2 separate regions of the Homo sapiens genome follow, and region 1 is linked to region 2. Evidence: promoter capture Hi-C in 16 types of primary human blood cells and fetal thymus (Javierre and others, 2016). All regions are on one chromosome and are shown on one strand. The core of a region is centred on a gene start or on the middle of the fragment in contact, and the rest is flanking DNA. Distances in the headings are between cores, read along the strand shown.

Region 1 (6,803 bases), core at 3,290-5,789, 110 kb before region 2:
GCCAAATGCTTGGCAACGGACTTGGCAATTATTAACAATCAAATATTTTCACTGTTTTGCATACAATATTAGATCCTCAGTTACTGCTTAACTTCAAGAAGGACTGAAACTGAAAACACTAAAGTCCTAAAGTGGGGGTGAAGAGTTTTTAAAAATATTTGTAGACTGATAATGGGATCATCTAAATCTTTCCCATTCTGGAAGTTTCAGATCAAACACCAGGGCTGAACATGTTCTTTAGAGAGATCCTCCAACATTTGCCATGAACTCCTTAAGTGCATGAAGAGATGTATAGTTTTTAAAATCATTTTGAGTTTATAACTACAATTTTTATCAGATTAAATAATTTTAATAGAATTCCTGGATTATAGTAAATATTGACATCTTAAAATAATACTGGATGTCATCACAATGGCAGACTAGAAGATAACAGGCAGAGTAGAAGATGCCAGCCTTCATTTCCCCACATATACCTACCCACACAACAAATAGAGAGCTATCCACAAATCAAAATAGCCCTGGGGGGCCTCAAGAGCCAATTTAAGAATCTGCAGCAACACAGTGGAGCAAAAGTAGAGAATATCCACACAAAGGTTCACTGATGAGAAGGGCATACCTGAGGTGGCTACAAAGAAGACAGGGGTGATTGTATCAGCCATGGGGCAGGAACCACTGGTTTCCAGTGTGGTCTGCTCTGAAAAAGAAACCAGCATCTTCTTCAACTTAGGCAATCAATGACCATTCATACTGGAGAGCCCCAGAGAGGGAGACACAGCTGTACACACACCAAAAAAACAGCTGCCATTGTGCCACTCCAGGACTAGAGCTACCACTTCTCCCAATACTGCATGTGCCCCAGGGTCCCAAGCCATGGCCACTCTGCAAGTGCCCACATTCCAGATCCTGGCTCTGTGGCTGCATTGTGCCTACCCATGCCTCTGACACCAGATCCATCACCACAGCAAGCTAATTGACACCCATACCCTGAAGCCAAAGTCTCTCTGCATGCCAACACTTGAGACACCAGCTCAGCTACCACTAAGAAGTAGCTAGCCTGTGTTCCAGTCCTAGATCTAAGGCTGCACAATGTAGGCCCATGCCTCAGACACCAGAGCAATTTGCACCCAGAGCTAAGGTCTCGGCATGTACCCATAGAGAGCTAGACCCCAGATCCATTGTAGCTTTACGTACAACTGTGCTGCCATCCATGGCTGCTTCACAAGCACCCACACTTCACATATCATTACCAATTTAACCATATAAGTGCCTGAACCCCAGGTCCTGGTGCCATTACCACCCCAGGCCCAAAGCTATAGTCCTTCTATGCATGCCACACTTCAGGCCTCCATGAGCACTACTCACCAGACATGGGTGCCATTGCCAACTCAAGCAGGCCTGCAAGTTGTACCCCACGCTAAGAGGGATCCCCTCAGCAATAACTTCCCTGAGGGGAGAAAAGGATTTGAAGGACTCCAGCAGTCACTGCCACAAAAGACACGCCAACAGCCCTCACTGCTTCTGCAGACATCCACAGGGTTGGCCACTGAGGATCCCTGAAATTTTAGTTAACATGATCTCAGCAGACAGAGCTGCATGGAGACTATACCGACATGCCATCTTCAGTGCCAAAACCACTGACCCACACCCAGCCAGTGCCTTCACCCCTCCTTTTAGGGGAAAGTCTTTCCCCACCAAAACCAGTCTATAAAGTCTGGAAGAGATGACTACTCCACCAAATGAAAAGACAATGTAAGACAGAAACTTGAAAAGCAAAGCCATCACCATAAAAAGAACATGATTTCCTAGCAGCTGACCCCCAAAAATGGATATCTATGAACTACTTGATAAAGAATTCAAAATAATTGTTTTAAAATATCTTAGACTCAAGAAAATAGAGTAATAATTCAAAAAAAACTAGGAAGACAAATGTAACAGATGAAATTTTTAAAATTCCGGAGCTAAGCAATACAATAAAAATGAAAAAACATCAAATAGAATCAACAGCAGAAGTGATCAAGCAGACGAAAATTTGAGAACAAAGGAGAAAAAGGTAAAAAGCCTATGGAATTTATGAGACAATATCAAGAGAGCTAATTCTTGAATTATAGGAGTTTAGGCAGAACAAGAGGAGAAAAGGACAAAGCTTAATTTAAAAAATAGGTAAAAACTTTCCAATCTGGGAAAATATATAAATATCCAGGTACAAGAAGGTAAAAGGTTTTAAATAAGATTCAATCTAAACAAGACATCAAGGCATACCATAATCAAAGACAAGGAGAATATCCTGAAAACAGCAAGAGAAAAGTCACCTATCGGGGAGTTCTATAAGTCTGATAGTGGATTTCTCAACAGAAACATTATAGGCCAGACAACATACTCAAAGGGCTGAAGGGAAAAAAGGCTAATGAAGTAGCATTTACCCAGCAAGGTGTCCTTTGGAAATGAAGAGAGACAGACTTTCTCAGACAGCCAGGAGATGAGGGAATGCATCAACACCTGACCTGTTTTACAAGAAATGCTAAAGGAAAAATTCAAGCTGAAAGAAAAGGGAGCTAAATTGTAACATGAAAATAGCGGACAGTATAAAACTCACTGGTGTGTTTTTTTTTTTTTTTTAAAGTACATGCTCAGATTCAGAATACTCTGATACTTTAATGGTGATAATATAGTAATATGTAAGTTACTTCCATCTTTAATATGAAGGTTAAAAGACAAAACTGAAAATAGCTACACTAATCGTTAAGGGACAGACAATATAAAAGATGTAAATTGTGACATCAGAAACATAAAATGTGGGTGAGGTTGAGTAAAGCATAGAAATGTTTAATCAAAGTTATCAGCTTAAAATAGCCTATTACAATGTTTTCTGTAGGCTTCCTGTAAATGTCAAAGCAAAAACTTATAGTAAATACACAAAAGATAAAAAGTAAAGAATCAAAATATACCACTACAAAAAATTTTCACAAAGGAAGATAAGATAGAAACCGAAGGCCCTAAAAAAACAGGAAACAATTAGCAAAATGGCAATAGTAAGGCCTTACTTATCAATAATTACCTTGAATGTAAATGAATTAAATTGTCTAATCAAAAGACAGAGTGGCTTAATAGATTAAAAAAGACTCAACTGTATGCTGCCTGAGACTCACTTCACCTGTAAAAACACACACACCAACAGTAAAGATGGTAAAATATATTCCATGCAAATGGGAACCAAAAATAGAGCAGGGGTAGATATACTTAGATAAAATAGAATTTAAGTCAAAAACTGTAAAATGATAATATATGTTGATAAAGGGGTAAATTTATCAAGAAGATATAACAATTGTAAGTATATATGTGTACCCAACATCAGGCCACCTGAATATATAAAGGTAATATTAATAGACAAAGAATGTATAATACAATTACTAGGGGACGTCAATACCCCACTTTCAGCAATGTACAAATAATCTAGAGAGAACATTCATAAGAAAACTGACTAAAAACACTCTAGACCAAATGAACCTGATAACCATATGCAGAACATTTAATCCAAGAATAGCAACATACATATTCTCAAGTACACAAAAAAACATTCTCTAGGATGGACCATGTTAATCCACAAAACAAGGCTTAACAAATTTTAAAAAATCAAAATCGTATCAAGTCTCTTTTTAGACCACAATAGTATGAAACTAAAAATCAATAACTGGAAGAACTTTTGAAAACTTACCAATATATGGAAACTTAAACATTTTCCTGAATAATCAAAGGGTCAAATAAATTAGAGGGGAAATGAAAGATTGAGATAAAAATGGAAGCACAACACACCAAAACTTATGGGATGTAGCGAAGCAATCTAAGAAGGAAGTTACAGCAACAAGCGCCAACATCAAAGATCCCAAACAAATGGCCTAAATGTTACACCTCAAGAAAATAGAAAAAGAAGAAACTAAGCCCCAAATAAGTATGAGGGGAAAAAAAGGCATGAGCAGAAATGAGACTAGAAAAACAATAGAAAATATAAATTAAACTGGGTTGTTTTCTTAAAGATAAACAATATAAAACTTTAGAAAGTCTGAGAAATCTCTACAAACCTAAGAAAGAATGCTCAAAATCAGAAACGGAAAACATTGTAACTGATACCTATAAATATGAAGGATCACTAAAGACCACTATGAATAATTATATGCCAACAAATTGGATAGCTTAGAAGGTTATATGTTTAGATTCCTAAACTTATAACCTACAAAAACTAAATCATGATGAAATTTAAAATATGAGCAGATGAATAAGTAATGAATCAATAATTAAAAATCTTCCACCAAAGAAACTCAAGAGCTGATGGCTTCATTGTGCAATCCTACCATTTAAGGAACTAATACCAATCCTTGTCACACTTCAAAAAATCGAACAAGAACTACTTCCAAACTCATTTTACAAGAGCAGCATTTCCCTGATGCCAAATCCAGACAAGATAGAAGAAATGAAAATTATAGACCAATTTATTTCTGAATATAGATGCAAAAATCCTCAACAAAATACTAGCACAAAATTCAACAGCACATTAAAGAATCATTTAACCATGATCAAGTGGGATTTATCCCAATGATGTGAGGATGGTTCAGTATATGCAAGTTTATAAATGTGATACACAATGTTAACAGTATAAAGGACAAATCATATGATTACCTCATTAGATGCAGAAAAAACTGACAAAATGCAACATCCTTTAGTGACTTAAAAAAAACTATCAACAAATTAAGTATAAAATGTTGTACCTCAGCCAGGTACAGTGGCGTGGCTCATGGCTGTAATCCCAGCACTTTGAAAGGCCGAGGAGGGTGGATCACTTGAGCCCGGGGGTTGGAGACAAGCCTGGCAACATGGTGAAACCCCATCTCTACTACAAATACAAAAAATAGCTGGGCATGGTGGCACATGCCTGTAGTCCCAACTACTCAGGAGGCTGAAGGTGGGAGGGTCACTTGGGCTCTGGAAGGTTGAGGCTGCAGTGAGCCATGATCATACCACTGCACTCCAGCCTGGTGACAGAGTAAGAGCCTATATTTAAAAAAAAAAAAAATTGTACCTTAACACAATAAAGATTGTATATGATAAACTCATAGCTAACAACACTCTCAAAAGTTGAAAGATTTTCCTCTAAGACTGGAAACAAGACAAGGATTCCCACTGTCACCAATTGTATTCAACATAGTGCTGAAGTCTTAGAGCAATTAGGCAAGAGAAAAAAATAAGATATCCAAATCAGAAAGAAGTTAAACTGTCCCTGTTTACAGATGAAATAATCTTGCGTACAGAAAACTAAATATTCTACACACAAAAAACTGTTGGAACTAATAAATTTAGAAAAGTCATAAATAAAAATCAACACATAAAAATCAACAGTGTTTCTATACACAAACAATGAAATATCTGAAAATAAGACAACAATTCCATTCATGATAGCTACGAAAAAATAAAATGTAGAAATACATTTAACCAAGGAGTTAAAGACCTGTGCATTGAAAACTATAAAACACTGAAAGGAGTTGAAAATACAAATAAGTGAGGCCAGGCGCAGTGGCTCACACCTGTAATCCCAGCACTTTGGGAGGCCGAGGCAGGTGGATCATGAGGTCAGGAGATTGAGACCATCCTGGCTAACACAGCGAAACCCCGTCTCTACTAAAAATACAAAAAAAAAAAAAAAAAAAAAAAGCTGGGCGTGGTGGCGGGCACCTGTAGTCCCAGCTACTTGGGAGGCTGAGGCAGGAGAATGGCATGAACCCGGGAGGCAGAGTTTGCAGTGAGCCGAGATCGTGCCACTACACTCCAGCCTGGGTGACAGCAAGATTCCTTCTCAAAAAAAAGAAAATACAAATAAGTGAAAAGATATCCCAAGTTTATGGATCAGAAGAATATTTTTAAGTGCCCATACTATGCAAAGTGATCTACAAATTCAATGCAATCCGTATTAAAATTCCAATGATGTTTTCCTCATGAGTAGAGGGGAAAAATCCTAAATTTTATATGGAACCACAAAAGTTGTGAATAGCCAAAGCAGTCCTGAACAAAAAGAACAAGTGCTGATGAGGATGCAGAGACAAAGGAACATTTGCACACTGTTGGTGGGAATGTAGACTAGTACAGCCATTATGGGGAAAAACTATGGCAGTTCCTTAAATTAAACTCTCATATAAAGTATAACTCTCATATGATCCAATAAACCCTCTTCTTGATGGATATCCACAGGAAATGAAAACCTCATGTTGAAAATAGGTCTGCACTCACATGTTCATTACAGCACTACTCACTATACCCAAGATATGGAATCAACCTAAATGGCCATCAACAGATGAGTGGAGAATGTGGTATGTATACACAACGGGATACTATTCAGCCTTAAAATCCCATCACTTGCAACAATATGGATGAATGTGGATGGCATTATGTTATAAGCCAGGCACAGAAAGACAAATACTATATAATCTCTCATATGTAATCTACAAAAGTGGAGATAGATGATGTTCAACAAAGCCAGCAATAACAAGCAATAGGGAAAGGACCCCCCTATTCAATAAATAGTGCTGGGATAACTGGCTAGCCATATGCAGAAGATTACTCCTGGATCCCTTCCTTACACCATATAAAAGAATCAATTCAAGATGGATTAAAGATTTAAATGCAAGTCTGAATAAAAAAACATATCTGATACCAGCCCTGTAGTTTGAACCTACTTCAGGGAATCCAGTACAATATAGTCAGTTCAGAGAAGTTGGCATGATTACGGATCCTGTGAGGGACAATTCTGCTTCAGAGAA
Region 2 (7,169 bases), core at 3,369-5,868:
ATTCTTTTTTCTCTAATCTTGTCTTGATGCTTTATTTCATTAAGTTGATCTTCAATCTCTGATATCCTTTCTTCCTCTTGATCAATTCGGCTATTGATTCTTGTGTATGCTTCATGAAGTTCTCATGCTATGTTTTTCAACTCCATCAGGTCATTTATCTTCTTCTCTAAACTGATGATTCTAGTTAGCAATTCCTCTAACCTTTTTTCAAGTTTCTTAGCTTCCTTGCATTGGGTTAGAACATGCTCCTTTAGCACAGAGGAGTTTCTTATTACCCACCTTCTGAAGCCTACTTCTGTCAATTCATCAAACTCATTTTCCATCCAGTTTTGTTCCCTTGCTGGCAAGGAGTTGTGATTCTTTGCAGGAGAAGAGGTGTGCTGTTTTTTGGAATTTTCAGCCTTTTTGCACTGGTTTTTCCTCATCTTCATGGATTTATCTACCTTTGGTCTTTGATATTGGTGACCTCTGGATGGGGTTTTTGTGTGGACATTCTTTTTGTTGAGGTTGACGCTATTGCTTTCTGTTTGTTAGTTTTCCTTCTAACAGGTCCCTCTGCTACAGGTCTGCTGGAGGTCCACTCCAGACCCTGTTTGCCTGGGTATCACCAGCAGAGGCTGCAGAACAGCAAAGATTGCTGCCTGTTCCTTCCTCTGGAAGCTTTGTCCCAGAGGGGCACCCGCCAGATGCCAACCAGAGCTCTCCTGTATGAGGTGTCTGTTGACCCCTCCTGGGAAGTGTCTCCCAGTCTGGAGGCACAGGGGTCAGGGACCCACTTGAGGAGGCAGTCTGTGCCTTATCAGAGCTCAAGCACTGTCCTGGGAGATCCACTGCTCTCTTCAGAGCTGGCAAGCAAGAATGTTTAAGGCTGTTGAAGCTGTGCTCACCGCCACCCCTTCCCCCAGATGCTCTGTCCCAGGGAGATGGGAGTTTTAGCTATAAGCCCCTGACTGGGGCTGCTGCCTTTCTTTCAAGATGTCATGCCCAGAGAGGAGGAATCTAGAGAGGCAGTCTGGCTACAGCAGGTTTGCGAAGCTTTGGTGGGCTCCACCCAATTCGAACTTCCCAGCAGTTTTGTTTACACTGTGAGGGGAAAACCGCCTACTCAAGCCTCAGTAATGGTGGATGCCCCTCACTCCACCAAGCTCAAGCATCTCAGGTCAATTTCAGATTGCTGCACTGGCAGCAAGAATTTCAAACCCGTGGATCTTAGCTTGCTGGGCTCCATGGGGGTGGGATCCACTGAGCTAGACCACTTGGCTCCCTGGCTTCAGCCCCCTTTCCAAGGGAGTGAACAGTTCTGTCTTGCTGGTGTTCCAGACGCCACTGGGGCATGAAAAATCCTGCCGCTAGCTCAGTGTCTGCCCAAACAGCCACCCAGTTTTGTGCTTCAAACCCAGGGTCCTGGTGGTGTAGGCATCCAAGGGAATCTCCTGGTCCGTGGGTTGCATAGACCATGGGAAAAGCATAGTATCTGGGCTGGATAGCACCATTCCATCAGGTCCTTTAAGGACTTCTCTGCATTGGTTATTCTGACCTAAAACCACAAAAACCCTAGAAGAAAACCTAGGCAATACCATTCAGGACATAGGCATGGGCAAGGACTACATGTCTTAAACACCAAAAGCAATGGCAACAAAAGACAAAATTGACAAATGGGATCTAATTAAAGAGCTTCTGCACAGCAAAAGAAACTACCATCAGAGTGAATGGGCAACCTATAGAATAGGAGAAAAATTTTGCAATTTACTCATCTGACAAAGGGCTAATATCCAGAATCTACAAAGATCTCAAACAAATTTACAAGAAAAAAACAACCCCATCAAAAAGTGGGCAAAGGATATGAACAGACACTTCTCAAAAGAAGATATTTATGCAGCCAACAGACACATGGAAAAATGCTCATCATCACTGGCCATCAGAGAAATGCAAATCAAAACCACAATGAGATACTATCTCACAGCAGTTAGAATGGCGATCATTAAAAAGTCAGGAAACAATGGGTGATAGACAGGATATGGAGAAACAGGAGCACTTTTACACTGTTGGTGGGACTGTCAACGAGTTCATCCATTGTGGAAGACAGTATGGTGATTCCTCAAGGATCTAGAACTAGAAATACCATTTGACCCAGCCATCCCATTACTGGGTATATATCCAAAAGATTATAAATCATACTGATATAAAGACACATGCACACATATGTTTATTGTGGCACTATTCACAATAGCAAAGACTTGGAACCAACCCAAATGTCCAACAATGATAGACTGGATGAAGAAAATGTGGCACATATACACCATGGAATGCTATGCAGCCATAAAAAAGGATGAGCTCATGTCCTTTGTAGGGACATGGATGAAAGTGGAAACCATCATTCTCAGAAAACTATTGCAAGGACAAGAAAACCAAACACCGCATGTTCTCACTCATAGGTGGGAATTGAACAATGAGAACACATGGACACAGGAAGGGGAACATCACACACTGAGGCCTGTCCTGGGGTGGGGGGAGGGGGGAGGGATAGCATCAGGAGATATATCCAATGTAAATGAGTTAATGGGTGCAGCACACCAACATGGCACGTGTATACATATGTAACAAACCTGCATGTTGTGCACATGTACCCTAGAACTTAAAGTATAATTTAAAAAAAAATCTAAGGCCTCAAACTATGAAACTACTACAAGAAAATATTGGGGAAACTCTCCAGGACATTGGACTGGGCAAAAATTTCTTTCAAATATTCCATAAGCACAGGCAACCAAAGCAAAACTGGACAAATGAGATCACATCAAGTTAAAAAGCTTCTGCACAGCAAAGGAAACAATGAAGTAGAGAGATAACCCACAGAATTGGAGTAAATATTTGCAAACTATCCATCTGACAAGGGATTAATAACCAGAATATACAAAGAACTCAAACAACTCTATAGGAAAAAAATATAATAATCTGATTCAAAAATGGACAAACGATCTGAATAGACATTCCTCAGAAGAAGACATACAAGTGGCAAATGGATATATGAAAATGTGTTCAACACCACTGATCATCAGAGAAATGCAAATCAAAACTACGAGATATTATCTCACCTCAGTTAAAATGTCTTTTAACCAAAAGAAAGGCAATAACAAATGCTGGCAAGGATATGTAGAAAAGGGAACCCTCATACACTGTCAATGGGAATGGAAATTAGTACAAACACTATGGCAAACAATTTGAAGGTTCCTCAAAAAAAAAAAAAAACCTGAAAATAGAGCTACCATGTAATCTAGCAATCCTACTGGATACTGCTAGGTATATACCCAGAAGAAATACTGTTAGGTATATATCCAAGAGAAAGGAAATCAGTATATCAAAGAGATATCTGCACTCCCATGTTTATCGCAGCACTATTCACAATAGCCAAGATTTGGAAGCAACGTAAGTGTCCATCAACAGATAAATGGATAAGGAAAGTGTGGTACACATACACAATGGAGCACTATTCAGCCATAAAAAGAAGGAGAACCTTTCATTTGCTACAAGATGGATGGAATTGGGGATTATTATGTTAAGTAAAATAAACCAAACACAGGCAAACAAACAAATTGTTATGTTCTCACTTATTTGTGGGAGTTAAAAATTAAAACAATCCAACTCATGAAGATAGAGAGGATGATGGTTACCAAAGGCTGGGAAGGGTAGTGGGGAATGATTAATGGGTTCAAAAATACATGAGAGAGAATGAATAAGATCTAGTATTTTATAGCATAACAAGGTGAATACAGTCAATGATAATTTATCATTTTAAAATAACTAAAAGCATATAACTGGATTGTATATAACACAAATGATAAGTGCTTGAGGTGATGGATAGATACCCCACTTACCCTGATATGATTATTACGGATTGTATGCTCTACCTGTATCAAAATATTTCATGTACCCCACAAATATATACACCTACTATAGACACACAAGATTGAAAATTAAAAAAATTACTTTGGTAAATTTTATGTTCTATATTTTTACGATTAAAAATAAAAATAATATAACCTGAGAATGTCCCTAGCTCAGTGACAAGAACACAGTTGGTTGTCAAATGTCAATTTCCTTCTCACCACTCACTGGTGGGACACTCACCTTGGGGTCATGCGAAATAAATCACTCACCTGCAGGCGTTAAAAAATATTAGTCACATCAGTCACATGAAAATAATTAGCTTCTGGAAGTAAGCAGATGGTGGCACGCGAGGAAGAGCACCGGCCACTCTTCTCTGCATCAAAACTTCCTTAAAAGCATCTTCCAGACATGGACATAGCGTCTAGGTGTGGAGTGATGACCAGTGTCAAAGAAAGCAGCCCGGACTCCCCCGTCTTGTAGATATTTTACCAAATCAGATAATGAAGACATGGGAGGGAGCGCGCAACCAGGACCACGGGCTACTGAGTTTCCACTCCTTCCCAGTCTCAGAGAAGCCTCCTGGGCATGCAGAGCCTCTGAAGCCTCCCCCAGCTCAACTCTGACTTCTCTTCTCAGCCGCATTTCTCCACACACCCTTTCAAGGCTCTGCTCCTCCCACTGCTCCTCCCTCACTCCTCCCACGGCTCCTCCTCCTCCCTCCCCTTTCCTCTCAGACTTGCTTCTGAGCGGAAACTGAAAGTGAAATAGGGAGCTGGCTACCAGCGTTGAGTCCCCTGTAAAGGTGAGTGAACCCCACTAGATCAAGGGACCCCTGCCCTCCTAGGGGACCTCTCTCCCCTGCCCCAGGGTTGCAGAGCCCCTTCCAGTCTCCATCCTTGAGCCGGTCCCATTTGCCCCTTCTCCCACCAGGGATCCCTCAACCCAAGACCAGCTGCGCTTCCGGTGCTGGCCCCCTGCTTGGGAGGAGGCTGGGGTGTGGACCTGACTGCCGAGTTACCCAGAAGGGGAAGGGGCCCGGCTGCCCCCTACCTGGGAGGAGGCTGGGTTGTGGACGTGACTGTGGAGTTACCCAGAAGGGGAAGGGGCCCGGCTGCCCCCATGCTGGCACCTGACCTAGGATGACGGCTGGGTGTGGCTGGGATAGCCAGGACTACAGCCTAGCCAGGAGGGTAGGGAGCCCAGTGTCGGGGAGGTCTGCAATTCTGGAGACTCCCAGGTCCAAAAGTCCTCCAGAGGTGAGAGGGGCAGGCTGTTTAGGATGTTCAACCAGAAATGTATAGGCCTTCAGAATTATTCTTTGTCCTAGAATAAGTGTTGTCAGGAACTAAACTAAGTTTGGAGCAGCTGAGAAAAGAGCCCAGGGAGTGCTGGCCACGGTTCCTGTTACTCTGTGTGTATACATACATATACACCTACATACATATATGCAACTGACTTCCGCCGTTATAGGAGGGATTAATGAAGATATATTCAAAGCATGAAGTATCTCTGGCACATGGAAGGTACATGGTAAAAAGTAGCTATAATTTCTCAGCAACATGGAGGCCTGTTGGTACCCGACAGGAGATGGATGAGCACTGAGGGTTTAAGCAGGAATGGACATGATGAGAGTAGAACTGTCAACAGCTTTATGAGGTTCTTGCCAATTTTCATTCCCTCTTTTAGGGACTCAGTTTCTCCTTCTGTCTCACTGGATCAATGGACCAAACAATGGAGGAGTTCTTGTTATTCAGAACAGGAATAAACTTATTCAACAAACTGTTTGATCGGTGCAAAAGTAATTACTGTTTTTGACATTAATTGTTTTGCCATTAATTTTATGCCTTGTTTTGTTTTGTTTTGTTTTTGAGAGGGAGTCTCGCCGTGTCACCCAGGCTGGAGTGCAATGGCACAATCTTGGCTCACTGCAACCTCTGCCTCCCAGGTTCAAGCAATTCTCCTGCCTCAGCCTCCCAAGTAGCTGGGATTACAGGTGCCCACCACCACTCCCAGCTAATTTTTGTATTTTTAGTAGAGACAGGGTTTTACCATATTGGTCAGGCTGGTCTTGAACTCCTGACCTAAGGTGATCCACCCACCTCGGCCTCCCAAAGTGCTGGGATTACAGGTGTGAGCCACCGTGCCTGACCCATTATTTTTATTCTTATTTTTTATTTTCCTTTGCATCATTTTGTTTTTCTTTTTTTAGTATATTTTTAATTTTTGTGGGCACATAGTAGGTATATTTATGGGTATATGGAATATTGTGATACAGGTATACAATGTGTAATAATCACATCAGGGTAAGTGGGGCATCTATCACCTCAAGCATTGATCATCTGTAATACAAACTATGCAATTATACTCTTATTTTTAATGTACAATTAAATTATTGACTATAGTCACCCTGTTGTACTATCAAATACTAGATCTAATTCACTCCACTTTTGTACCCATTAACCATCCCATCTTCTCCCCCACACACAGACCCTCCCTATTACTCTTCCCAGCCTCTGGTAACCATCTTTCTATTATCTAACTCCATGAGTTCAATTGTTTTAATTTTTAGCTTCTACAAATGAGTGAGACCATACAATGTTTGTGTTTCTGTGCCTGGCTTATTTCACCTAACATAATGACCTCCAGTTCCATTCATGTTGTTGTGAATGACAGGATCTCATTATATTTTATGACTGAACAGTACTCCATTGTGTATACATACCACATTTTCTTTATCCATATATCTGTTGATGGACTCTTAGATTGCTTCCAAATCTTGGCTATTGTGAAACGTGCTGCAGTAAACATGGAAGTGTGGATATCTCTTTGATATACTGATTTCCTTTCTTTGGGGTATATGCTAGCAGTGGGATTGATGGATCATATGGTAGCTCTATCTTCAGTATTTTGAAGAACCTCCAAACTGTTCTCTGTAGTGATTGTACTAATTTACCTTCCCACCAACAGCATATGAGTGTACCCTTTTCTCCACACCCTCACCAGCATTTGTTATAGCCTGTCTTTTGGAGAAAAGACATTTTAACTGAGATGAGATTATATCTCATTGTAGTTTTGATTTGCATTTTTCTGATAATCAATGATGTTGAGCAACTGTTCATATGCCTGTTTGTCATTTGTATGACTTCTTTTGAGAAATGTCTGTTCAGATCTTTTGTCCATTTTTGAGTCAGATTATTATTTTTTTTCCTATAGAGTTGTTTGAGCTCCTTATATATTCTGGTTATTCATCCCTTGTCAGATGGATAGTTTACAAATATTTACTC

What was found. Contacts are between HindIII fragments. The CHiCAGO score rates a contact against its expected background, and 5 or more counts as called.
Region 1: a fragment that was not itself captured here is called in contact with the fragment with the promoter of TRIM21 in region 2 in 1 of 17 cell types (monocytes); the score reaches 5.3 in monocytes.

The regions. Positions count from the first base shown.
Region 1 is chr11:4,497,999-4,504,801 of GRCh38, reverse strand. No RefSeq gene overlaps it. Among named protein-coding and RNA genes, the nearest start is that of OR52K1, 19 kb to the right of the region's middle. The HindIII fragment of the contact is 4,788 bases long and covers 2,146-6,803 here.
Region 2 is chr11:4,391,151-4,398,319 of GRCh38, reverse strand. It overlaps TRIM21 (tripartite motif containing 21), which reads left to right and starts at 4,618. Exons shown (of 7, transcript NM_003141.4): 1 at 4,618-4,687. RefSeq lists enhancers at 4,438-4,497, 4,518-4,727. The HindIII fragment of the contact is 6,932 bases long and covers 2,810-7,169 here.